5 separate regions of the Homo sapiens genome follow, and all the other regions are linked to region 5. Evidence: promoter capture Hi-C in human tissues and cell types (Jung and others, 2019). All regions are on one chromosome and are shown on one strand. The core of a region is centred on a gene start or on the middle of the fragment in contact, and the rest is flanking DNA. Distances in the headings are between cores, read along the strand shown. Region 1 overlaps TTF1 (transcription termination factor 1). Region 2 overlaps CFAP77 (cilia and flagella associated protein 77). Region 3 holds the start of LOC124902292 (a long non-coding RNA gene). Region 4 overlaps CFAP77 (cilia and flagella associated protein 77). Region 5 holds the start of AK8 (adenylate kinase 8).

Region 1 (4,771 bases), core at 2,101-4,600, 480 kb before region 5:
TTGAACTCAATACATTAAAAATGCCTATCATTTCAACACGTCATCAGTATCAAAAAATATCAACGATGTATTTTACATTCGGTTCTTCATCTTGAGCCTTCAAAACCCAGCATGTGTTTTACTCTGACAGCACATCTCAATGTGGACTAACTACATTTCAAATGTTCCACAGGCCCAGGAGGCTGCTGGTCACCATACTGGAAGACACAGCTCTAGAAGGGAAGTTCCATGAGGGCAGAGATCTTGTCGGTTTCGTATACTATGTTATCCATAATGCTTGACAGACAAAAGATGGCTTTACTGTATAAACTGCATAAACATGCAACAAATGGCTTTACTGTAAATATGTAACTACTTGAGAAATGTAAAGTGCATTCATCCTACATAAAAATACATGTTGGGAGCAAGCCCCCCCCGCAAACTGGCCATAAACAGAATCTCTGCAGCACTGTAACATGTTCATGATGGCCCTAATGCTCACGCTGGAAGGTTGTGGGTTCACGGGAATGAGGGCAAGGAACACCGGGCCCACCCAGGGCGGAAAACCGCTTAAAGGCATTCTTAAGCCACAAACAATAACATGAGCGATCTGTGCCATAAGGACATGCTCCTGCTGCAGTTAACTAGCCCAACCTATTCCTTTAATTCGGCCCATCCCTTCGTTTCCCATAAGGGATACTTTTAGTTAATTTAATATCTATAGAAACAATGCTAATGACTGGCTTGCTGTTAATAAATACGTGGGTAAATCTCTGTTCGGGGCTCTTAGCTCTGAAGGCTGTGAGACCCCTGACTTCCCACTTCACACCTCTATATTTCTGTGTGTGTGTCTTTAATTCCTCTAGCACCGCTGGGTTAGGGTCTCCCGGACCGAGCTGGTCTCAGCAAACACATATATTAAAGTACTAAGAAAAGCACTATAATATTATAAATGGATTTTAAGATTAAACACCTAAATATTTAAATAAATAAAAAGCAATCTTTATAACATCTTCAGATTCCTATCTGAGTAGGAATGGTGGTTTATGTCATCACTAAGAAGTCCTAAAAAATACAATTTCTTTTTTTTTTTTTCTTTGAGACAGGGTCTGGCTCTGTCACCCAGGCTGGAGCACAGTGGCATGATCATGGCTCACTGCAACCTCCACCTCCTGGGATCAAGCGATCCTCCCACCTCAGCCTCCCAAGTAGCTGGGACTACAGGTGCATACCAGGCTAATTTTTGTATTTTTTGTAGAGCCACGTTGCCCAGGCTGGTCTCAAACTCCTAATCCAGTGATCCGCCTGCCTCAGCCTCCCAAAGTGCTGGGATTACAGGCATGAGCCACCGCACCCAGCCAAAAACAAACAATAACATCGGAGCATTTTCAGACATTTGTCTGTAAATGCAGCGTATGGTGAATAGAAACTGGTTATTCTTCACTATTTTTTTTTTTGAGGCGGAGTCTTGCTGTGTTTCCCAGGCTGGAGTGCAGTGGCGCAATCTCGGTTCACAGCAACCTCTGCCTCACAGGTTCAAGCAATCTTCCTGCCTCAGCCTCCCAAGTAGCTGGGATTATAAGCGTTTGCCACCACGCCAGGCTAATTTTTGTATTTTTAGTAGAGATAAGGTTTCACCATGTTGGCCAGTCTGGTCTCGAACTCCTGACCTCAAGTGATCCGCCCACCTCAGCCTCTCAAAGTGCTGGGAATTATAGGTGTGAGCCACTGTGCCTGGCCTACTTTTCACTATTAAGAATCATGGCTGTAAGCCAGGTGTGGTGGCTCAAGCCTGCAATCCCAGCACTTTGGGAGGCTGAGGCAGGAGGATCACTTGAGGTCAGGAATTTGAGACCAGCCTGGTCAACATGGTGAAAGCTCATCTCCACTAAAAATATAAAAATTAGCTGGGTGTGGTGGCACACGCCTGCAGTCCCAGCCTCTTGGGAGGCTGAGGCAGGAGAATCGCTTGAACCCAGGAGGTGGAGGTTCCAATGAGCCGAGTTCGCACCACTGCACTCCAGTCTGGGTGACAGAGGGAGACCCTGTTCCAAAAAAAAAAAAAAAATTGCCAGGCACGGTGTCTCACCCCTGTAATCCCAGCACCGTGGGAGGCTGAGGCAGGTGGATCGCCTGAGGTCAGGAGTTCCAGACCAGTCTGACCAATATGGTGAAACCCCGTCTCTACGAAAAATACAAAAATTAGCCGGGCGTGGTGGTGGGTGCCTGTAGTCCCAGCTACCCGGGAGGCTGAGACAGGAGAATTGCTTGAACCTGGGAGGCGGAGGTTGCAGTGAGCCAAGATTGCGCCATTGCACTCCAGCCTGGGCGACAGACTGAGACTCCATTTCAAAAAAAGAAAAAAACAACAAAAAATCAACAACAAAAATTAAAAATTAAAATAATAATAATTCTTTGATTTTTTACTTTCTATTTTTTTGAAGTCAGGAATTGCTTGCTATAAAAATATTCTAAGGGTAAATGATCACCACAACACAAATAATACAGCACAAAGAGATGAACTGTTAGATTTTTAGAATGACTCTAAAAATTACTCTAAAAATTTCATTCCTGTGTGTGTGTCACAGGTGGAAATATATTACCTCAGCTGCCACCATTAACCTGCCAAAAGCATTCTTGTAAGTCCCATTTAAAATGTTACCTTTAGTGGATTTTCTTAAAAGTTCTGTTCACAATTGTCTAACCTCAGGATTGGGGAAAAACAGGCAGGGCAGGTCTCAGTCTGTGTGTGAACTTTCCTCACCTAAGGCTGATTTATTTCTGTAAAAATTTTAAAAAGGAAACCGAGGTCATATCAACGTTGGAAGTTTAAGTAATGACCTATGTCTCAGTTTACAATCACAGAGCTAAGCAGAACTCAACTGCCGCTGCCAGAAGATTTATGAAAGCTGCCTCTCAGAGAGAGGTCAAGCAGCTGAGTAGAAGGTAGTTTTCGGGGGCCGTGGAATCCGAGCTAACACCTTCCTGCTTCTCCTTCTGTCCCTGAGCAGAGTGCTAACGTGCTAACCCAAACGCTCGGTCTACGTTTGGTTTGTTTTTAAATGTGTTGGAAACAAATTATAATCCGATATTGTATTTGGGGAAAAGGAAGGAGAGAATGACAACCGGGTTAAGCACCCCAGGTTGATACCACTGAACTGCATTTAAGGGACCTAATCCCAGCACTTACCTCCACCTTCAAATAGTTACTAAAAACCCACAGCACTCTGCTAAGTGCTGAATGGAACATGTGTCGAGATGGGATGTTTGGGTTCACAAGGAGCTTATGACGTAAGCAGAGAGCAGAGTAAACAGGAGTCACAGCACATGAAGCAGCATATGGGGAGTGCTAAAGAAAAAGTGTAGAGAAAGCTGCAGATGCAGGAAACAGAAGGTCACCACAGCTTCACTAAAGAGGTGGGGATGGAAAAGGCCATGAAGACACACATTTGACAACAAATACACCACCTGGTTTCACACACACAAATCTGCGTTATCTTTACTGCTAATCCACTGCTGTGAATATTTTGATTTATGGTATCAGCAAAGACTAGAGAAATGTTGTCTCAAGCTGCTAAGACTTTTTTCTTACCTGCCTTTGTAATTGTTGACATCGAACATCTTCTTTGCTCGATAGTATATAAGTTTCCAGGGCCGGGCAATGTTCCTACCTAAAGTCAGAAGAAAGGTGATCAGAGGGACTCACATGAAATGAAGTCGCAATTGTAAAAGGAACCCAGAACAGCCCTTATAACAACATGAACTATCCTAAGCCCCGTGTTAAGGCTGGGATTTCCTACGTCCTGAAGAAAGCTGTCTTGTTTTTTTTGTTTGTTTTTTTTTTTTTGAGAGAGTCTCACTCTGTCACTGAGGCTGGAGTGCAGTGGCACTGTGTCGGCTCACTGCAACCTCCATCTCTTGGGTTCAAGCAATTCTCCTGCCTCAGCCTCCCGAGTAGCTGGGATTACAGGTGTCCACCGCCACGCCCAGCTGGTTTTTATATTTTTAGTAGGGACGGGGTTTCACTAAATGAAACCAGGCTGTTTCATTTGGTGAAGGCTGCTTCACCAAATGAACCAGCTGGCCAGGTTCATTTGGTGGCCAGGCTGGTCTTGAACTCCTGACCTCAGGTGATCCGCCCTCCTCGGCCTCCCAGAGTGCTGGGATTACAGGCATGAGCCACCGCGCCCGGCCTAAGAAAGCTGTCTTGAAGAGCAGATACACACAATCACCAGTTTCCTTGGAGATCTCCGAAAACTAAATGCTTAGTACCCTGAGGCTTCAGCTTCCGGTCTATGCAATTTGTGGAAAGAATCCTTAAGAGGCAAAGTAGTTTTAAGATAATGTGAATTAAGAGGAAGAGAACACTGCGGTGGAGAATACAGGGTAACAGTTTTCCAGAAGATGAACAATAATCTTTCCCAAATCAGCTTTTCTCACTTTCTCACTCTAAGGGGAAATAATCCCTCAACGGGGGCGTACTAGCCTGCTTTTCTTCGTGGATTCCACACAACACCTAAGAAATTATCCTCTTTAAATTCAAGAGAGATTTGCTTTCGCTCTGATCCCATATGACAGCATGACCTTCTAACTTCACAGGCAGCACCTCCAGTCGGAGGGTTCCAGTTACAAAGCACACATATGGCCACACTTAAAAAACACGGGAGACCATGGTGCGTATAAGGATGTGCTTTGTGTAGCGTACACAAAATATAAATAAGGAACAGGAGGAGAAACCAAAACCACAACTATTGCCAAGGAAGAAAGGTAAAAGTTGATCATTTAATTTTTC
Region 2 (4,675 bases), core at 1,454-3,953, 400 kb before region 5:
TTCATTATCTGCTGGCTGCATTAACCGAGCCTGAGGTCTTCCAGCGAGAAGAAACTGCATTTTAAACTTTCCAGCAAATGTGAGGCCCTCCTTTGCAGTTTATTCCCTAACCTTTAAAATGAGAGTTTTCTGATATTCTGAAAAGGGCAGTTGGATTCCCCAGGTATCTGGAAGAGCCCAGCCTGGGTATCATGCATCTTGGGAAATAGACACTGGGCCTGAGCAGATGTTGAATTCTTGCTTTCTATGGCTGCATCTACCACTAGGCCCCTTCGCTAAGGCTGGTCTGCAGTTGGGAGCGTTACAGAACCCAGGCTGGTTCCAGGCCACAGTCTCCCTGCTGAGGGGATGCAGAGCCCACTTTGGGACTGAGCCGATAATCGTCTCTGAATTGCCTTCGTTTTTGCCAGTCTTGAATGCCTCAGTCAAGGGGTAAATCCACAGGAGTTAGGCAGGGAGAAGTGTCTCGGTTAGGAGCAGGAAGAACAAAGAAGCCACATGAAATTGGGCTGGCAGCTTTCCCTACATCCAATCAGCTTTGAAGATATTTGGGTCTGAAGAGCTCAAGCATCTTGCATTTGCCACAGAGGCCTGAGCATTGCTCTCCTAGTTCAGACTCTTGTCACCTCCACCTGGAGTGCAGAACCAGACTCCTGGGTACCCCCACCCTCTGCTTTCTCCTCTACCCCATCCTGTGCGCACTGGTAGTAGTCCAGCTTTCCCAAACTGCAGTACTGATCCTACCATGGCCATGGAACCACAACCATCCCTGGCTCCCTATTACCTCTCAAAGAAGATAGCCTGGCACAGCCTGGCCCCATGACTCACCTTCCGTCTGGTCTGCTGGATCATTTGCCGCTGCCTGCATTTCTGTCCAGGCTTTTCTGCCATCTTGGCCTGCTCTGTGAAATCCTGCACCATAGCTCTGCATTCAGCATTCCAAGTCTTTCTCGAATGCCACCTCTTCTGGGAGGTCTGGCCCGAGCCTGGCAGGCAGATGAGCTTGCTTCTCAGAGTTCTCGTGGCCTGTAAGACTTCCCTTGTGGCGTTCCTCTATGCCCAGCTGTTCTGTAAGTGTCTATCCTCTGCTTGGTCCTGGGGTTGGTTGCTTCCAGGAACACCCTCAAGATTGACTATCAGAAAAGTCTAACTCAACCCTTACTCACTGTGTCCCATACCGCATGCTCTGAGAAACCTTCCCCTAGTGACCCACCCTCCTCTTGTGGGGCTGGATGGTGAGCTGTCTTCAGTCTCTGGGTCCCCAGAACTTTGCTTATGTCTGTCTTCAAGCTCTGATCTTCCATCTCCCCACAAGCTGTAATAGGGGCACACAGGTGGTGTCTGTCTGAGCAGATGGGTGTAGCTCATCTAGATGCAGTGCTTGGTACTGGGATGGTTCCCACGAGGTGCTGGGTAATGAGTGCTGTGACCTTACTTGGAAATAGGGTCTTTGCAGAGGTGATCAAGTTAAGGCTCTCAAGATGATACCATACTGGATGTAGGGTGGGCCCTAAACCCAATGACTGGTGTTCTGACAAGAGAAAGGGGAGGGAGATTTGAGGCACAGAGACACACAGGGGAGAAGGCCATGTGGAAACAGAGGCAGAGATTGGAGTGATACAGCCACAAGCCAAGGAGCACCGCAGACTGCCAGCAACCACCAGCAGCCGGGAGAGAGGCCTGGAATGAGTCCCCCCTCGGAGCCCCAGAAGGAACCACTGCTGCTAACACCTTCATTTCAGACTTCTGGCTTCCGGAGCGGTGAGATTTCTGCTGCCTTCAGCCACCAAGGTGGTGGCGATTTGCTGCAGCAGCCACAAGAAACGGATACAGAGGCGATGGTTTGGGGCCAGGAATGCATGATCAGGTCTTCCCAGCCGCTGGTGCTGTGACGCCAACCTCCTCTGGTCTTGGGGCTGCCGGAGCTGCAAGCAGCCTCGTACATCTGCCTGTGTGTCTCGTGCCAGGCTGACTGGTTTCTCTGTGTGCCAGGATGCTCAGAAGCCTGGGAGGCACCAACAGTGGGGCCAGGATGAGGGACACCTAGTTGATTACTGAGCTCTGCCTCTGGCGATTAGCAAGGTGACCCTGGGCACATGTCACCTCTCTGACTAATCTGTAAACCCGGCACAAGAGTAGACCTGCTTCACAGGTCATAACGACGAGCCTTCTGTTCATTCATTCAGCAAAGATGCATTGAGCACCTACTACGTGCCAAGAACTACAGGCCCTGGAGACAGCGCAGTGAGCAAACCAGCCACCAAACCCCATCCCACAGAGCTTGTTTTAGGGAGAAGAGAAAGATGATGACCCAAATTCATCAGTAGAATACATAGCGAGTTGTTGATTGGTGCTACAAAGAAACACAAAGCCAGGCAGGGGTGCAGTTCCCAGTGGGAGGTCGGGTCAGGAAGGGTCAGGGGTCAGCAGGGGTCAAGCGCCTAGCCTTGGGCAAGGCATTGGGCACATAGTAATTGCTCAGCACACATGAGCTGTCTGCACTCCAGGCTGGGGGCCTCTTCCATTTCTCCCCACAGGATGCTCTTGCCTTCTCTTGCCCTGCATTGGGTTCCAGTGCTGCCTCCTGGCTCCCTTTCTTGAGCATCTGAATGCCAAGGCAGGTGTCTAGGGGGTGAGTAGGGAACTGGGCCAAACTCTGATGGAGATGTGGGAGGCCGTAGGCTCAGACGGGCAGCCTAGGAGTCCAGACCCTCTGAGTCTGGACCAGCATTCACGAGGGAGGAGCCACTGAGACAACCAATCTGGGGGCAGCGGGGCCCTGCCACAGCTGCCTGCTCTCTCAGTCATTCTACTTGCTTTTGTTTAGAAGATGAGAAAGTCCAAATGTTTGCAATTTCTTTGAAAACTAAGACAGGAGATTAAGGAGTCAGTGTGGTGGAATTTTTTTTTCCTTCTCGTCTACCCAACCTAACCAGGTGATATGGTTTGGCTCTGTGTCCCCACCCAAATCTCATGTGGAATTGTAATCCCCACATGTTGAAGATGGGGCCTGGTGGGAGGTGACTCGATCATGGGGGGTGGTTTCTGCCCCATGCGCCTCTTCCCTTTGCTGATTTTAGCCTGTAGCTTTTTACTATCATAAACCATAACCGTGAGTACAGTGGCTTTTCTGAGTTCTGTGGGTCCTTCTGGCAAATTCCTGAAGCTGAGGGTGGTGTTGGGGAGTCCTGAATGGCAGCCAAGCCTCAGCCTCTGCTTACCCTGCACGAGGCTCACAGGTGAAGACGCGGCACTGGTTCCCCCCATTTGTTCTGTCAGTGCCAGTGGCTCCGGGTGTGCATTCAACCCTCCAGACTTCAGAGGCTGTACTCGCCGAGAACAGGAGCAAGTTCCTCTAATAATCAGCCTCCCCCTTGGCTTTTATTACTTTGGGCAAAATAAAATTTGCTCCCAAGTAAGCAAAAGCTCCCTGACAGCCCTGTCGGCGTGAGGTGTCCTATTTGAAAAGATATAAGAGGCCAGGGACAAAAAACGCGAGGCTTCTCCAAGGCAGATGGGGCCCGGCGTGGGCTGGAGGTGACGAGGAGGGGACTCAGAATCTAATGAAGAGGAGAGGGCTGGGGCCGGAGATGCTCATCTCAGCCTAGCCCTTTAAAACCAAAATGATGGAGTTCATTTGCATTTAGATCTCCTTGGCTCCCTCTTTTCATCTAAAGACAAATCCTCACAAAAGGCTGCTTAATTAGACCAAATTAGATTTCCGCTCTGCAGCTTGTCATTCATTACAGAATGCTGTTCTTTTTCTATTTTGGTAATTATAGGCTGGTCTATAAACCAGTTTGTAAGCATTCACTCCAGCCATTGAATATGACTAGCATTCCTGATTTTGTGCAGAGAGGAGGAAAATTATTCAGTTGCACCAAATCTGTCTATTTTATAAGTTGGATCAAGACCATCGCTGGAGTCTTTTACAATAATGGGTATTCTCACTCCTAATTCTTTAATGATTAATTGTAGGAGCAGCACAGGGCTTGGTAATTTTCAAGACTAAAAGCTAAGTACAAATAGATTTTCGCATGTAGCAATTATGCCACATACTCAGAATCTTTACCTTAGTGATGCAACCCCATGGCATCTAAGAAGCCACCCATTAAAGCATTTACAGCACAACCCCTCATGCCCAGCTCACAGTGCTCAGCCATCTTTTGCCCTGGGTACCCTCAGGGAGCTCAGACCTTTTCCCCCATAGTTCATCCCACCATTGTTCATCCTACCATCGTGCATCCCATCCTCCCAACCACAGAACCACAGAGTTTCCAGTTTTCAGTTTCAGATACAGACACAGCTGGGTGGGTGCATGGGGGAGGGCCTTGGGGGGCTGGGCCTGGTTTGGTTGAGCCAAGGTCCTCCTTGTGGCGTTCTTGAAATACTCTTCATTCATCCAACCTGCTGCAGCGCATTGAACCTGCTGATCCAATCACCTCCCACCAGTGATGCTCCTCCGAGTGGCTGGAGGGATGTGCTGCAGAGCCATGGCCTGAGTTCCCTCCAAGGATGGCCCCGTTGGCTTTGCTCAGGCCATCCTGGTTGAAAGCGTGTGGGCAGGTGGGCCGAGCTGGCCACCAGGGACAGATGTTGCTGATGGAGTTTGGACACGTAGCATCAACTCCCTCTAATAATAGTGGCCACATTTTCCTACTGCAGATATTTAGAA
Region 3 (4,793 bases), core at 1,752-4,251, 510 kb before region 5:
GAGAAGGGCTGGTAGGGGAAGCAAGGAGATCAGTGTAACTCAGAGAATGAAGCCTGAGATCACGGCAGGTGGCAGTGGAGGTGGCTAGACTAGAGTCCAGGTGGGCTTGGAGACAAATGTGGTGGGGTGGGGTTTGCTCTTAGGTTGGATGTGGAGGTCCTGGAGGAAAGGATGGAAACAGGATGACTTCTAGGTTTCTGACTTGAACAAACAGAACGACAATACTGTTAGGTAGTTAGATGGACATTAGCAGCTGGGAGAGGGAGAGAGAAGAAAGCAGGAGGGCTGTCACTAAGACCAGCCCTAGCCCACCTAAGTTCAGCCTGAGACCGTCCTAACTCCACCCTAATGGATGGAATTTATGGTACAATCTGGGGCCAGCACATCCTGGAGAAAGAAAAACTGGGGCACAGATAACGATGGCCTAAAGCCACACGTGCCCAGTCCATGTAGGCCATAACCCAGGGAAAACCCATCCTCATTATAGTCGTTATAATAAAATTTACATGTGGTTTTGCCTCTCTGAGTGGGCTTTTCTTAATGAATTATGGGTAAAAACATGCGCAGTTTAACTTCAGGGATATAACCATAAACTGCCAATCAAATGATATCATCCTGTCACTCAAACACAGCCCAAGCCTCAACTCCTCCAACAAACCCCATAAAAGCACCTTGATTTTTGTAAAGAGGGGCTGATTTTACTTCCCAGAAATGAGCCTGCTCTCCCTCAGAGTGTTTTACTGTGTTGCAATAAATCTTGCTGTAAGCTTGCATTTCAGTGTTAGTTTGCCTTTTTTTTTTTTTTTTGAGATGGAGTCTCGCTCTGTCGCTCGGGCTAGAGTGCAGTGGCGCAATCTGCCTCAGCCTCCCGAGTAGCTGGGACTACAGGCGCCCGCCACCATGCCCGGCTAATTTTTTTGTATTTTTAGTAGAGATGGGGTTTCACCGTGTTTGCCAGGATGGTCTCGATCTCCTGACCTCGTGATCCATCTGCCTTGGCCTCCCAAAGTGCTGGGATTACAGGTGTGAGCCCAGCCTAGTTTGCAATTCTTTGCTCACTATCACAAGAACTGAGATTGCTGGTCCAGAGCTCCAGCTCTGTTGATCTTGGTTAAAGAATCCATTCCAACACAGGATGCCCGGTAACAATACCACTGGCAGAGATGAGGAAGCCCGGGGGACAAGTGACAGATTTTGAGATGGGTGTCAGCAATTAGAAAGTTATTTGTGCTGGGCGCGGTGGCTCACGCCTGTAACCCCAGCACTTTGGGAGGCCGAGGCAGGCGGATCACCTGAGGTCGGGAGTTCGAGACCAGCCTGACCAACATGCAGAAACCCCGTCTCTACTAAAAATACAGAATTAGGCAGGTGTGGTGGCACATGCCTGTAATCCCAGCTACTTGAGAGGCTGAGGCAGGAGAATTGCTTGAACCCGGGAGGAGGAAGTTGCGGTGAGCCAAGATCACATCATTGCGCTCTAGCCCAGGCAACAAGAGCAAAACTCCATCTAAAAAGAAAGAAAGAAAGAAAGAAAGTTATTTGTAATATAATAGATTTCAGGTGTAATACCTGAGTGGAGATAGTGAGTAGGCAGATGAATTTTTTTATCCTGGAGTTCGGGGGAGAATCTGACCTGTAACTATACACTTGGGAGGAGGGATCAGCATATACACATTATTTCAAGGCATGGAGAGAATGTGAAGAAGCCCAAAATTGAGCTCTGAGGAACACTAACTTTTCAATGTTGAGTGCAGCGGGAGGAGTGTAGCAGAAACTAATTGAGTCCATATATATATACATATATACACACATATTTTAAATTAAGATGAGTTACACTAGAGCCTGTTTGTATGGTGTTAATGGTCCAGAACAGAAGGCTGACAATTTAGGAGAAGGATCAACAAAATATCAAAATCTCAGAAAATGCAGGTGGTAGCCAGGCACTCACACCTTGTAATCTCAACACTGGGAGGCAGAGGTGGGAGGATCACTTGAGCCCGGGAGTTCAAGACCAGCCTGGGCAACATACGGAGACCATGTCGCTACACAAAAATAAAAAATAAAAATTAGCTGGTGTGGTAGCACATGCCTGCTGTTGTCCCAGCTACATGGGAGGCTGAGGTGGGAGGATTGCTTGAGGCCGGGAGGTCAAAGTTGCAATCAGTCGTGATGGTGCACTCCAGCCTGGGCAACACAGTGAGACCCTGTCTCTTTAAAAAAAAAAGGAAAAAAAAAGCAGGGGGATGGGCTGCAGGAGCTTAGGTGTAGGGATCGGCGTAAGTGTGGCTGGAGGTAGGTTTGTCTGCTTGGTGGAGGGAGGAGGGAGCTTATGTCTTATGGCTTCACTTTCCTAAGTGGATTATACATGAGGCAGAAAGGGAGTGTGAGAGGGCTGACTGTGCACGTGAGCTGATGTGGGGAAAAGCAAAGCAAGCCTACTAGAGATTCAGAGTAGCATCCTTTGGTAACATTGTGTCCGTTTGAGCTTTATCATCATTAAAGTGAAATCTGCCAGCTCAGTTGTAATTTTCTTCTGGGAATATTCAGCTCTTCAGGTGCAGGTAACAGGCAAAGGGAAGGGCTCACCCAGATCTGGTGTCTTAAACAGGGAAGTGCCTCAGGGGGAGAGAATGCCAGGATGGAGGGTGTTCAGGAAGGTGATTGTGGCAAGGGACCATGTGACAGCCTGGGTAAGCTGGGAGTGACCTGATAGCACCGAGGGAGGCTGAGAATGCCTGCTCATGTATTTCAGGAAATAAACAGGAAATGGTGTTCAGGAAGTGCTGGACTGTGTAGCCTCCAAGAAAGCAGGCCCCAAGGCTGTACTGTCAATGCTTGTTTTTTGTTTTTTTTTTTTTGAGACGGAGTCTCTGCCGCCCAGGCTGGAGTGCAGTGGCGGTATCTCGGCTCACTGCAACCTCTGCCTCCTGGGTTCAAGTGATTCTCCTGCCTCAGCCTCCCGAGTAGCTGGGATTACAGGCACGCACCACCAGGCCCAGCTAATTTTTGTATTTTTAGTAGAGATGGGGTTTCACCATGTTGGTCAGGCTCGTCTCGAACTCTTGACCTCCCGATCCTCCCGCCTCGGCCTCCCAAAGTGCTGGGATTACAGGCGTAAGCCACTGTGCCTGGCCTGTCAATGCTTGTCTTTTTAGCTCCTAACAGTACCTGGCTCACTGCACGTGTTCACCAATGTTTGTTGAGCTGCACTTGTCAAAGTGAAGGTGGTGCTATGAAGTCAGTGGATGTCTTGGTCTGGCTAAGATGCTAATTTCTGACCTACTTGGTATCTGCCATGCTGGGCCACTTTGTTGGGTAATGAAGTCCATCAGTGAAGACAAACAGCTGAAACACATGACTAGGGACAAGGACAAAATGACCAAGAACTGAGCCAAGAACTCGAATAATGCATAGTCAAGGCTGTTTAAAAACAATTTTATGGGCCAGGTGCTGTGGCTCACGCCTGTAATCCCAGCTACTCTCAGGAGGCTGAGGCAGGAGAATTGCTTGAACCCGGGAGGCGGAGGTTGTAGTGAGCCGAGATCACACCACTGCACTCCCGCCTGGGTGACAGAGACTCTGTCTCCAAAAAACAAACAAAAACAAAACCAATTGTACATGTTCCACAGCCTTAGTTCTTGTGAGGTGGGTATTGTCTTTCTCTTTTTACCTTTGTTCGCTTTCTGAGTCACTTTCTTTAGTAAAAGGTGAGATTTATAGGATCTGAAACCAGAACATTGACTCACTTTTTTTTTGAGACAGTCTCACTCTGTCGCCAGGCTGGAGTGCAGTGGCGTGATCTCGGCTCACTGGAACCTCCGCCTCCCAGGTTCAAGTTATTTTCCCACCTCAGCCTCCTGGGCAGCTGAGACTACAGGCGCAGACCACCACACCCGGCTAATTTTTGGTAGAGATGGGTTTTCACTATGTTGGCCAGGCTGGTCTCGAACTCCTGGCCTTGAGTGATCCACCCACCTCAGCCTCCCAAAGTGCTGGGATTACAGGCATAAGCCACCATTGCCCAGCCTCTGTTAATTTTTTTTTTTTTTTTTTGACACAGGGTCTCTGTCACCCAGGCTGGAGTGCAGTGGTGTGATCTCAGCTCACTGCAACCTCTGCCTCCCAGGTTCAAGCGATTCTCTTACCTCAGCCTCTCAAGTAGCTGGAATTACAGACACACGCCACCATGCCCAGCTAATTTTTTTTTGTTTGTTTTTTTTTTTTGGTAGGGATGGAGTTTCATCATGTTGGCCAGGCTGGTCTCAAACTCCTGACCTCAAGTCATCCGCCTGCCTTGGCCTCACAAAGTGCTAGGATTACAGGTGTGAGCCACTATGCCCGGCCTCTTCAGGCTTTGATGTATCTTACCAAATTGCCCTCCAAAAGGAACATAAAATTTATATTAAGTTCTTCTCCATTTGAAATATCTCGGGTGGTTTTGCTTTCCTGATTGATGGAATAGCCCACCATTGAAATTATCTTTGAATATCCAACAGGAGTTGTGTGTTGACACTGACACATTTTTTTTTCTTTTCTTTTTTTTTAGGAGTCTGGTCTGTCTCTGTTGCCCAGGCTGGAGTACATGGTACCATCATAGCTCACTGCAGCCTCAAACTCCTGAGCTCAAGTGATCCTCCCACCTCAGCCTCCTGAGTAGCTGAGACTATCGGCTGCACTACCACACCTGGATAGCACCTTTCGATAAGTATAACAGAGTGTCCCCTCCCCTCCTCTCCCTCCACCCCTCCCTCCTTCCCTTCCTTCCTTCCTTTTTACAGAGACAAGTTCTCACT
Region 4 (4,921 bases), core at 2,204-4,703, 320 kb before region 5:
TCCCATTTCATGTCAATAACTCTCAATAACCCCACATGGTAGAGATGAGCTGCCCTGTCTCTGAGGCAAGGAGGCTAAGGCTCGGAAGCTTAAAGTCACGTGCCCAAGGTTAATAGCTAGCATGTGGCCAGGTGGGGACTTGGACTCTGGCTGGCTGCCTCCAAGCCTCAGGCCCTGAAAGAGCTGATAAACACTAAAGACTTGCAACTGAGGTCGGGGGCCAGTGCAGGGCTAAATGCGGGCCCGGGAAGGAAAGTGCAGGGCGGTCAGGAATGAGGGATTTTATGAGTGTCCAGAGTGTCGTGGCCGGGCCTGCTCCGGCTGATTTAAGCCCTGGCAATAAACCAAACTTCCCACTGCCCCAAAAGCCTCTAGACCTTGATAAAACCTCGGGCATCTTTTAAATTGCAGTTTGGCCCCAAGGCTAAAAAGGAAAGAGGCGGCTGATCCCGGATTCAGGCTTACTGCGTTAAAAGTGGGAGGCTGAGGCTGAGTCCAGCAGGAGGGCTGGGTCTGTCTGTGGGCTGGGCAGCCATGCAGAGTGGCTCCAGGTCCCAGCCTGCCTCATGCCCGCCCCAGGTCTGCATCTGTGAAGTGGGGATGGCAACAGAGAGGACCAAGTGCAATCATGCGTGTGAAGCGCGTGGCACAGGCCTGGCTAGGGGACGGTCATGGAGCAACAAAGCCTCTGGGAGGGACGAGGCCCTGGAAGCTGCTCCTTTAGATGAGTTATTCGAAAACTTGGCTTTGCCTGGGATCCTCTGAGGAGATGTTTAAAATGCAGAGTCGAAGGCCCAGTGCGGTGGCTCATGCCTGTAATCTCCCAGCACTTTGGGAGGCCAAGGCGGGAGGATCACTTCAGCTCAGGAGTTTGAGACCAGCCTGGCCAATATGGTGAAACCCTGTCTCTAGCAAAAATACAAAACTTGGCTGGGCATGGTGGTGTGCTCCTGTAATCCCAGCTACCCGGCAGGCTGAGGCAGGAGAATTGCTTGAACCTGGGAGGTTGAGGTTGCTGTGAGCCGAGATCACGCCACTGCACTCCAGCCCAGGTGACAGGGTGAGACTCCATCTCAAAAAAAAAAAAAAAAAGCAGAGTCCAGGGCCTCTCCAGGACTCTGATCCAGTGGGTCTGGGACAGCCACCAAACCTGTATTTTCAGCAAGCCAGCTGCCCCAGCTCTCAGGGTCAGTGTCAACTCCACTCTTACAGTTACGTTCAAATATGTGTTTACTGTGGCAGGTGGATGTATTTTCATATGTTTGACATGAGGCATGATGGGGCTTTCAAAGGGAAATGTGCAGTTGGAGACCGCCTCTGTCTGTTAAACAGCCCTAAGGCTTATGAACTTCTGTCTTAGTCAGGCTGCTCTAACAAAATCCCATAGACTGGGGAGCTTAAACAGATGTTTATTTCTCCTAGATCTGGAGACTATAAGTCCAAGGTCAGGGTGCCAGCATGATCAGGTTCTGGTGAGGGTCCTCTTCCTGGCTTATAGCCAAGGCACCTTCTCACCGAGTCCTCACTTGCTGGAGAGAGAGAGAGGAAGCACACACTCTGGTGTCTCTTCTTATAAGGACGCTAATCCTATCATGGGGGCCCCACCCTCACGATCCCATTTAAACCTAATCAACTCCCCAAGAGCCTTATCTCCAATGCCATCACACTGGGGGTCAGGGATTCACATACGCTTTTTGTTGGCTGAGCATGGTGGCTCCCACTTGTAATCCCAGCACTTTGCGAGGCTGAGGTGGGAGGATCATTTGAGGCCAGGAGTTCAAGACCAGCCTGGGCAACTAAGTGAGACTCTGTCTCTACAAACAAACAAACAAACAAACAAACACCATATGCGAATTTTGGGTGGACACATTCAGTCCATAGCAAGCTCTTTTTCAAGTGCAGTGGAAATCTGCCTTCTACCTTCCACCTCCTTGTTGTGTTTCTTGCTTCTTGATCCCCATGGAATCACCTTCTCTCCCTTCCACATGACAGCCCTGCAAATTCCCAAAGTCAGATACCATTTCTTCATAGACAACCAGGGTCTCGATTGCACCCCAGGGCAGAGTTCTGAATGTTGGAAGGGGGAACCCCACGTTGCAACAACAGTGGACGGCCTAGGCTCCACGGTCTCCACCAGTCCATGCTGCATTCTCTACCTTTATCCACATGCATGGAAGATTTGTCAAGCTGCACTGCATTTCTATATATTTTTAAATAAAATTGTGACTGAAACTGTCTATCAACGCCACTTGAATCACTTAATACAAGAACCTCCGTGAAAATTCCCTGCTGGAGGGCAATTTCAGGAAGAAGCTTAGTCGGATTCGTGTATACTAATAGTAGTAATAACAGTACAAGCCACCATGTCTTCAATGCCTACACTGTGTGCCAGGCACCATTCCAGGGGCTTGGCAATGACCCCACGGGATGGGTAGTATGACCCTTACTTTGCAGGTGAGAAACTGAGGCCCCTGGTCACACAGCTGGAAAGCGATAGGACCAGGATTGGAACTGAGCTCTGTGGAACTCAAAGCCCTATGTCCCTAATCATCGAGTGCACTGTCATGCCTTCTGTTGTGGAAAAAACATGCTCGACGTGATGGAATGTGCTCCGTTTGGCTTCATGTGGCAGAAATTGAGCAAGGGTTAGAATCTGTTTAAACCAGGGGCCTGAGAGTTGCTACACTTTTCTTCAGACTATGCTTTATGCAACCCTTATTTTTATTTTATTTATTTTTTTTTTTGAGACAGGCTCTCACTCTGTCACCCAGGCTGGAGCACAGTGGCACAATCACAGCCTCAACTTCCTAGGCTCAGGTGATCCCCCACCTCAGCCTCCCAAGTAGTTGGGACTACAGGTGCACACCACCATGCCCGGCTAATTTTTTTTATGTTTTGTAGAGATGGGGTTTTACCATATTGCCTAGGCTGGTCTTGAACTCCTGGGCTCAAGAGATCTGCCCGCCTTGGCCTCCCAAAGTGTTAGGATCACAGGCATGAGCCACTATGCCCAGCCCTTAAATACCTTGTTTCACCTTGCGTGCAATCCGCCAGATACCTTCAAATCACTTGGAAGGAGACAGGGTACAACTACTGAAGAAAGTAAAACACTTCTTCCACTTAGAGTTTAAGCTGAGCAAAGCAGAGATCTTCAGGGTGCCTGAATCTTGGATGCATTCCTAAGGGCTGTGTTGCCTCATCCCCAGACTCCTGACCCACTCATCTGTCCATCCGTCCATCCATCTGTCCATTCATTCATCTATCCAACCATCTATCTATCCATCCATCTATGCATGCATGCATGCATCCATCCATCCACCCATCCATCCATCCATCCATCCATCCATCCATCCATCCATCCATCCATCCTCAGCCATCTGTCCATCTGTTTGTTCATCCAACCATCCAGCCAAGATTTGTTTGGTGTCTACTGGGTGCCTCTAAAAGTAGAGTTACCCCAAGACATTTGAAGGCCTCCTGTCTGCGGACATTTCCCTAGAACCATGCCCACAATATGGCATTAACATCTTTGCTATCTAGCTGAGGACACTTAGCTCTAATAGTCCTATTTGTGACTTGTCAGGCTTAGCCTCGTCAACCACAGAAAGGTTCTGCTCCTTCTTAAAAGATACCAGAAAAAAATCCTTCCTGGTCATTATTCCAATAAGATAAAAGGGGAATAACAACACCAAACCTCGTTGCAGTACACTCCACCCCGATGGGCCGAGGACACCAAACATCTGAGTGTGTCCCCAGCTTCCCTGGCAGTAACTCAGAAGTTGTTCAACAGCCTATATTAATGAGCAATAAAGTACTGACGGGCACTGCATGGACGGCTCAGCAAAGGACTTAATTTGCAACCGAGCACAAAATCAAAGACTGTCAACCGAGGAACCATGTGGCTGGATAAGCACCTTGTGCTACCTGAGAAAGCACTGTCAGGTAAATTTCCAGAGAAAGTAATTAAGGAATCCCCATTGTCTAAATTCAGCAGTAAAATTTGGAGCTCTGGAATTTGATGCTCACCAGGGAGCTGGTGTCTCCTCCCAGCCCAATCCTTCATCAGAATGAAGAGTGGAGGCTTAGGAAGGGATCAGCTGACGTGCCTCCCGCCCTTTCCCTAACACACCCCCCAGCCCTGTGTGGTCCTGCATGTGTTGTCTTGTCAGAGAAGCAGAAAGCAGCAAATGAGATCTCCGCGTTGTGAGATGGGGGTGAGATTAATATACAAACATATAGACCTGAGATCTGGCAAGTGCCAATTAATATTTATCAAGCACCCACGGCGTACACGATACCGAGAATCAACATGCAAAACATACAGTCCCTGGCATCAGGCAATCTCCACTCCGAGTCACACTCAGGTTCCGCGCACAGATAGATGATCCGTGTGCTTGGAGGCACCTGCCCCGGTGGGAGAACCCACCAGGAGTTTAAGTTAATATTGATACAAGCGCCCTCTTCATACTGAGACAATGTAGGATTCTCAAGCAGGCATCGTCAGCACCCTGGCCTCCACTGGGGGAACCCTGATGAGACACTACCCCAGATCTCTAGGGGCCGTCCCATTCACAAAGACACCTCAGCAGGGCCTCCGTCGACACAGTCCCTTCACTAACTTCTTCTTAGTCTTCACGATAAAAGAAAAAGTCCTCCTCCCCACTGAAGATCAGGCTCTGCTGTGACCTCCCCTGTCCTGATATTTCTAAGCGGGGGTGGGCAGGTTGTGGCAGGACCCCTCCAGAAGAAAGAGCTGAGCAGCCTCCCATCATCTGGGTTCTGCAAAGAAGGGAGGACCCCCTCCCCGGCGGCTCAGCTTGTCAGGGCCTTTGTTGACAACCCCATTGAAAGCGGCCTCACTGTCTTTGTGAAGTTTCCTCCATCTCCCATTCACTCCTTTCTCAGGCAGTTTTTGAAAGGT
Region 5 (4,438 bases), core at 1,391-3,890:
TATGTGCACTACGTAAATATGTCAGATGCTCCTGCACCTGCCTGCGGGCATCGCCCTGTTCCACGCCTCACCCTGTCCCTACTCACCAGGCCACCATCCCCCCGGCAGGCCATGGGTTCTGTGGGCCTCCTTGTCTGCCTAGAGCCCTTGGCACCCCAATACCTGGCAGTCATAGCAGATGCCCAGCGCAGATGTTTGCTGGGGAACATGACCGTCACCACTAACTGTGTCTCTCCAGAATGGAACAGAATGTTACCAGCCAGATTTCTAAATAGTCCTGGGATATTCTGGCCATTTCATCCAATCAGGCAAGCATATCAAGAGAAAGCAGCTTCTGGGGTTGCAGAACCCTAGGCAGAGAAATGAGGAGGAGCTCATAGCAGCTGTGCTGCTGCAATAAGGGGTATCCTTGAGCCCCAGGGACAAGGAGGGAGGGGCTGTAGCCCTCTTGGAGTGAAGGGAGTGTGGGGCAGGGAAAGAGCACCGAGCCATGAGAAGTCTTGGTTCCAGCCCCACTGTATCTCATCAGCAAGTCCCTTCCCTTCTCTGGGCCTCAGCTTCTCTGCCTGTTCAGTAGCACAGCTGGAGTGAATTCATGTTTGTATGTCACTGGTGCGATGATGGAATGAGATGATTTTAGATGGTTCACACATAAATATTTTACATTTCATGTTTAAATCATTGTGTATTTAACGTGTATTAGAAATATAAGTACATCAAATCAATAATTTCAAGGATATCACTTAGGATGAGGCAAAAGCGGCTATTTAATTTTTTAAAAGGTGAGTTGATTTAAACAAGTGATTAGTTTAAATGGAGGTGCAGTAGCGGTTATGCAAATCTGTACATGTGATACAACTGCACAGAACTGTATGCACAACAAAAACATCAATGCAGGTAAAAATGGAGGAAATCCAAACAAGGCCTACAGTTCAGGTAATCCTATTGTACCAATGCCAGTTTCCTGGTTTTGACAATGTGCTACAGTTATGTTAGATGTTATCACGGGGGCAATGTGGGAGGGGAGACCAGAAATCCATACTATTTTTTAACTTCCTGTGAATCTAACATTATTTTAAAATCAAAAGTATAAAAAATGGAAATGGTCAAAAACATGGAGGGAATCCACAGATGACTAAGGACTGGAAATACTGGACTGAAAGCTTTCTTGTTGGGAGGCCGAGGCAGAAGGACTGTTTGAGCCCAGGAGTTCAAGACCAGTCCGGGCAACATAGCAAGACCTCGTCTGTACTAAAATTAAAAAAAAAACATTAGCCAGGTATGGTGGCCTGCACCTGTAGTCTCGGCTACTCTGGAGGGACTAAGGCAGAAGGATTGCTTGAGCCCAGGAGTTCAAGGCTGCAGTAAGCCATGATTGTATCACTGCACTCCAGCCTGGGCAGCAGTGCAAGACCCTGTTTCAAAATCAATAAAAGCTTTCCTGGGCAATTCCTCCAACAATCAATGTGGAAAACACACCAGGTTCTCTAGAGCAGACAACAGGGCTCCAGATGATCCCCCATCCTGCCCTGACCTGCTGACTTCTAACCCAGCTAGCTATTTGATTTGTGATTGGCCACTCAAGCAGTTTTAGGAATCTCTTGCTCTCCCTCTATCAGTTAACACTTTCCGAGGGAAATGTGTTTGATGGAGGTGCAGACACGGGTTTCTTCGTCTGGGCTCAGCTGTCTAGTGTGCAGGGCAGAACCTCAAATGACCACAGACACCACTATGCCCTCCATGCCATGCCCCTGGGGATGGGGTGTACCCTGGGAAGCAGACAAATGATCTGAAAACTGAGCTCCAGCTTCCCCTTGCCTCTCAGAACCTTTGAGTGGCTGAGAGTTCTTCCCCTCCAGCTCCTGAAAGCCTTGACCTCCACCACGTGCAAAAGGGAAAACTGGGGCCCTGGCGGGGACGGGGCCTCGCCCAAAGTCACACGGTGAGCTGGGGGCCCAGTCAGGCCTGGAGCCAGAATGAGAGCTTCGGAGCTGCCGGGGACGTCTGGCCCTGAGGAGGAGGGACCAAGGTGGGAGATGCTGCTGTCCCAGAGGCGGCCCTCTCTGAGGATGGAGATGCCAGCTTGAACTCGGACAATGCCCACCTCAGAAACCTGGGCCGAGAGGCTCCCCACAAATTCGACAGATGGTAATTGTCAGCGCCGGGAGAGCCCCTGGGAGACCACCTCTTGCAACCTGGCATTTCACAGGTGGGGAAACCGAGAAAAGGAAAGGACTGGTTCCAGACCATAAGGCCCGCTGGCGGCACAGCCAGGACCAAATCCCGGCTCGAGTGGCCCCCTTCCTCCCCCTGGGTCCGCCTGAGGCAAACCCGGGCAGGACCAGGAGCGTCCCCAGCTCGAGGGCCCCCTCGGGGTCACGGCGACACACGAATCGTACATCCCGAGTTGGGCTGCTTCGTGGGCGCGCGACTCGGCCCCAGCTGCGGGTCCCGGCCGCGCACCCGACGTCGCAGTGGAGGCTCCCGAGCCGCCGCCAGCGTCGCGACGGGCAGGGGTGTCCGGTCACCTGCATCAACTCGAAGATGTGGTTCTCCTCCCCGTACTGGGGCATCTCGGGGGGGATACGGTGCGGGGCGATAGTGGCGTCCATGTAGCCGTCTCGGCTCGCCGCTCCCTAGTAACCGCGTCGCTAGGGCCGCCGCGCCGACTGCGTCATCAGCACGCGCCGCGGCCCCGCCCTGCAGGCTCCGCGCCGGGCCCAGATACCCGATCCTCGGTCGCGCGGGTCGCCCCCGCCCCGACCTCCCCGGCTGACGCGCTCTGCGGCTCGGGCAAGTTCTTTCCCCAACCCCGGCCTCGCTTTTCCCATTTGCGCATCTTAGCGGGGGACACCCTCAGGTGGCTTCCAGCTGGGCCTCCTCGTATCTGAGACCCCCGACGAAACCCAGAAGGGGCAAGTCGGCCCTCCGAGGGGACGGGAGGCAGAACCTGCTTCTGGTTCTGTCAGTGCTCCCCGGCCCGGCTCCCTGTGCCTCAGTTTACCCATCTTTAAAACAGACGCGGGAATAAATGTGGGGGAGGGTGTTTGAAGGGGGAGGGGCGTCCATGAGATGGGCCGGAGGTTCGAGGATCGGGTGGAAATCCTCAGCCCAACTCCTAGAGTCGAGCCCCGGTAGACCCCTCCCAGCTCCCCGGCTCTGGCCAAGCCGCCAAGTGACCCGATTGCTATGGCACCGGCGGTAACAATCACGCCCGCGGCCCCGCCCCTTCTCGCCCGACGTCCCCACCCACCCTCGCCTCCCAAGTCCTGGAACGGGCCTCCCCACCCTCCGGGGCACCGACACTCACGGAGTCACTCCAACTTCTCTGGGTGCTCCGTGGAGCGAAGAGCGCTCTAGGACAAGCAAGGGTAAACAGGGATGAGTGTGGGTGGGCCCACTCGGACCCCACCCCGGCCTCTGGGTCAGAAACTGGAAGCTGGGGTGGAGGATGGAAAGATGGAGGGGTCCGGAGGATGGAGGGGCCTGCACAGCTGTCTCGGGGTGGGGGCGAGGGGAAGGTTCGCGCTGGAGACGGAGCTTTTTAAGTCGTATGAATTCCCAGTGGTACGGGGCAGCTTGATATTTTATTAGTCGCAACACTGAATTGGGATCTCTAGCTCTTGTCTGTTGCCGTTAATCGTAGGAGCTGTAAGAGTTTGTTGAACTCTTTGTGCTCTCGGCAAAATTCTGTTGTCTCTGTACCTTATGGAGAGGGAAAATGGCACAGTCAATGCAGACAGCCCCAGCTTCAAGTTCTGGCTCCGCTTCTTACTGTGTGAGCTTGGCAAACTCTCTGCTTGCTCCGTGCCTCACTTTCCTGCCCTGTGAAGAGGGAACTGCTGAAGGATTTCAGGAGCTAATGTATTGGAGAGTAATTGGCATGCAGTAAGCACACAATATATGGGGCTACTATTAGTAGTAGTATCTCATTTAATCGTTCCAACAATCCTGTGAAATAGGCACCTTCATTCCCATTTTACAGATGAGAAGTTGGAGGATTAGAACAATGAGGAGTGGTTGGCTGGGTAACTTTGGGTGAGTCACTTCCCCTTTCTGGGCTTCTTTTCTCATCAGTTGTTGATCATACAGCCTTAGAACCAGAAGGCCTCTTGAAGAAGAGGCTAATCCAAACTCTCTCATTTGACAGATGGATAAACTGAGGCCCAGAAAAGGGGGAAATCTTGGCTAGGGCCACTGGTTAGATTGGGCAGAGCCAGGGCATGAACTCTGCATCCAGGCTCCAGCTAAAGCCCTTTTCTACCAGCCATCAGCCCAGAGACATGCCCTCCCAACGTAAAAGCCAGCACTGTTGCCTCTTCCCCTCCAAACCGCTTCCTCAAAGTGTGTACACCTTGGTAGGCTTGTCAAACCCAACTGTAAAGATAGCTGGGGAAGAAAAGGAAGCTGCCTCCCCCTGAGCAAAGAACACAACAGC

What was found. Contacts are between HindIII fragments. The study calls those that stand out against the background at their distance.
Region 1: a contact is called between a fragment that was not itself captured here and the fragment with the promoter of AK8 in region 5, in 1 of the 25 tissues and cell types used here (dorsolateral prefrontal cortex).
Region 2: a contact is called between a fragment that was not itself captured here and the fragment with the promoter of AK8 in region 5, in 2 of the 25 tissues and cell types used here (liver and mesenchymal stem cells).
Region 3: a fragment that was not itself captured here is called in contact with the fragment with the promoter of AK8 in region 5 in 1 of the 25 tissues and cell types used here (aorta).
Region 4: a contact is called between a fragment that was not itself captured here and the fragment with the promoter of AK8 in region 5, in 1 of the 25 tissues and cell types used here (lymphoblastoid cells).

What each region holds. Positions count from the first base shown.
Region 1 is chr9:132,392,862-132,397,632 of GRCh38, forward strand. TTF1 (transcription termination factor 1) reads right to left here. Exons shown (of 11, transcript NM_007344.4): 5 at 3,572-3,650. Among named protein-coding and RNA genes, the nearest start is that of TTF1, 12 kb to the right of the region's middle. The HindIII fragment of the contact is 8,735 bases long and covers 1-4,771 here.
Region 2 is chr9:132,475,123-132,479,797 of GRCh38, forward strand. All of the region lies in intron 1 of CFAP77 (cilia and flagella associated protein 77), which reads left to right. Among named protein-coding and RNA genes, the nearest start is that of CFAP77, 67 kb to the left of the region's middle. The HindIII fragment of the contact is 6,160 bases long and covers 1-4,675 here.
Region 3 is chr9:132,370,181-132,374,973 of GRCh38, forward strand. LOC124902292 (a long non-coding RNA gene) reads left to right here and starts at 4,619. Exons shown (of 3, transcript XR_007061828.1): 1 at 4,619-4,705. RefSeq lists an enhancer at 2,562-2,856. The HindIII fragment of the contact is 6,869 bases long and covers 1-4,793 here.
Region 4 is chr9:132,551,621-132,556,541 of GRCh38, forward strand. All of the region lies in intron 5 of CFAP77 (cilia and flagella associated protein 77), which reads left to right. Among named protein-coding and RNA genes, the nearest start is that of BARHL1, 29 kb to the right of the region's middle. The HindIII fragment of the contact is 4,506 bases long and covers 1,201-4,921 here.
Region 5 is chr9:132,875,644-132,880,081 of GRCh38, forward strand. AK8 (adenylate kinase 8) reads right to left here and starts at 2,641. Exons shown (of 13, transcript NM_152572.3): 1 at 2,529-2,641. The coding sequence starts at 2,612. It overlaps SPACA9 (sperm acrosome associated 9), which reads left to right and starts at 3,255. Exons shown (of 4, transcript NM_001316897.2): 1 at 3,255-3,371. The HindIII fragment of the contact is 8,008 bases long and covers 547-4,438 here.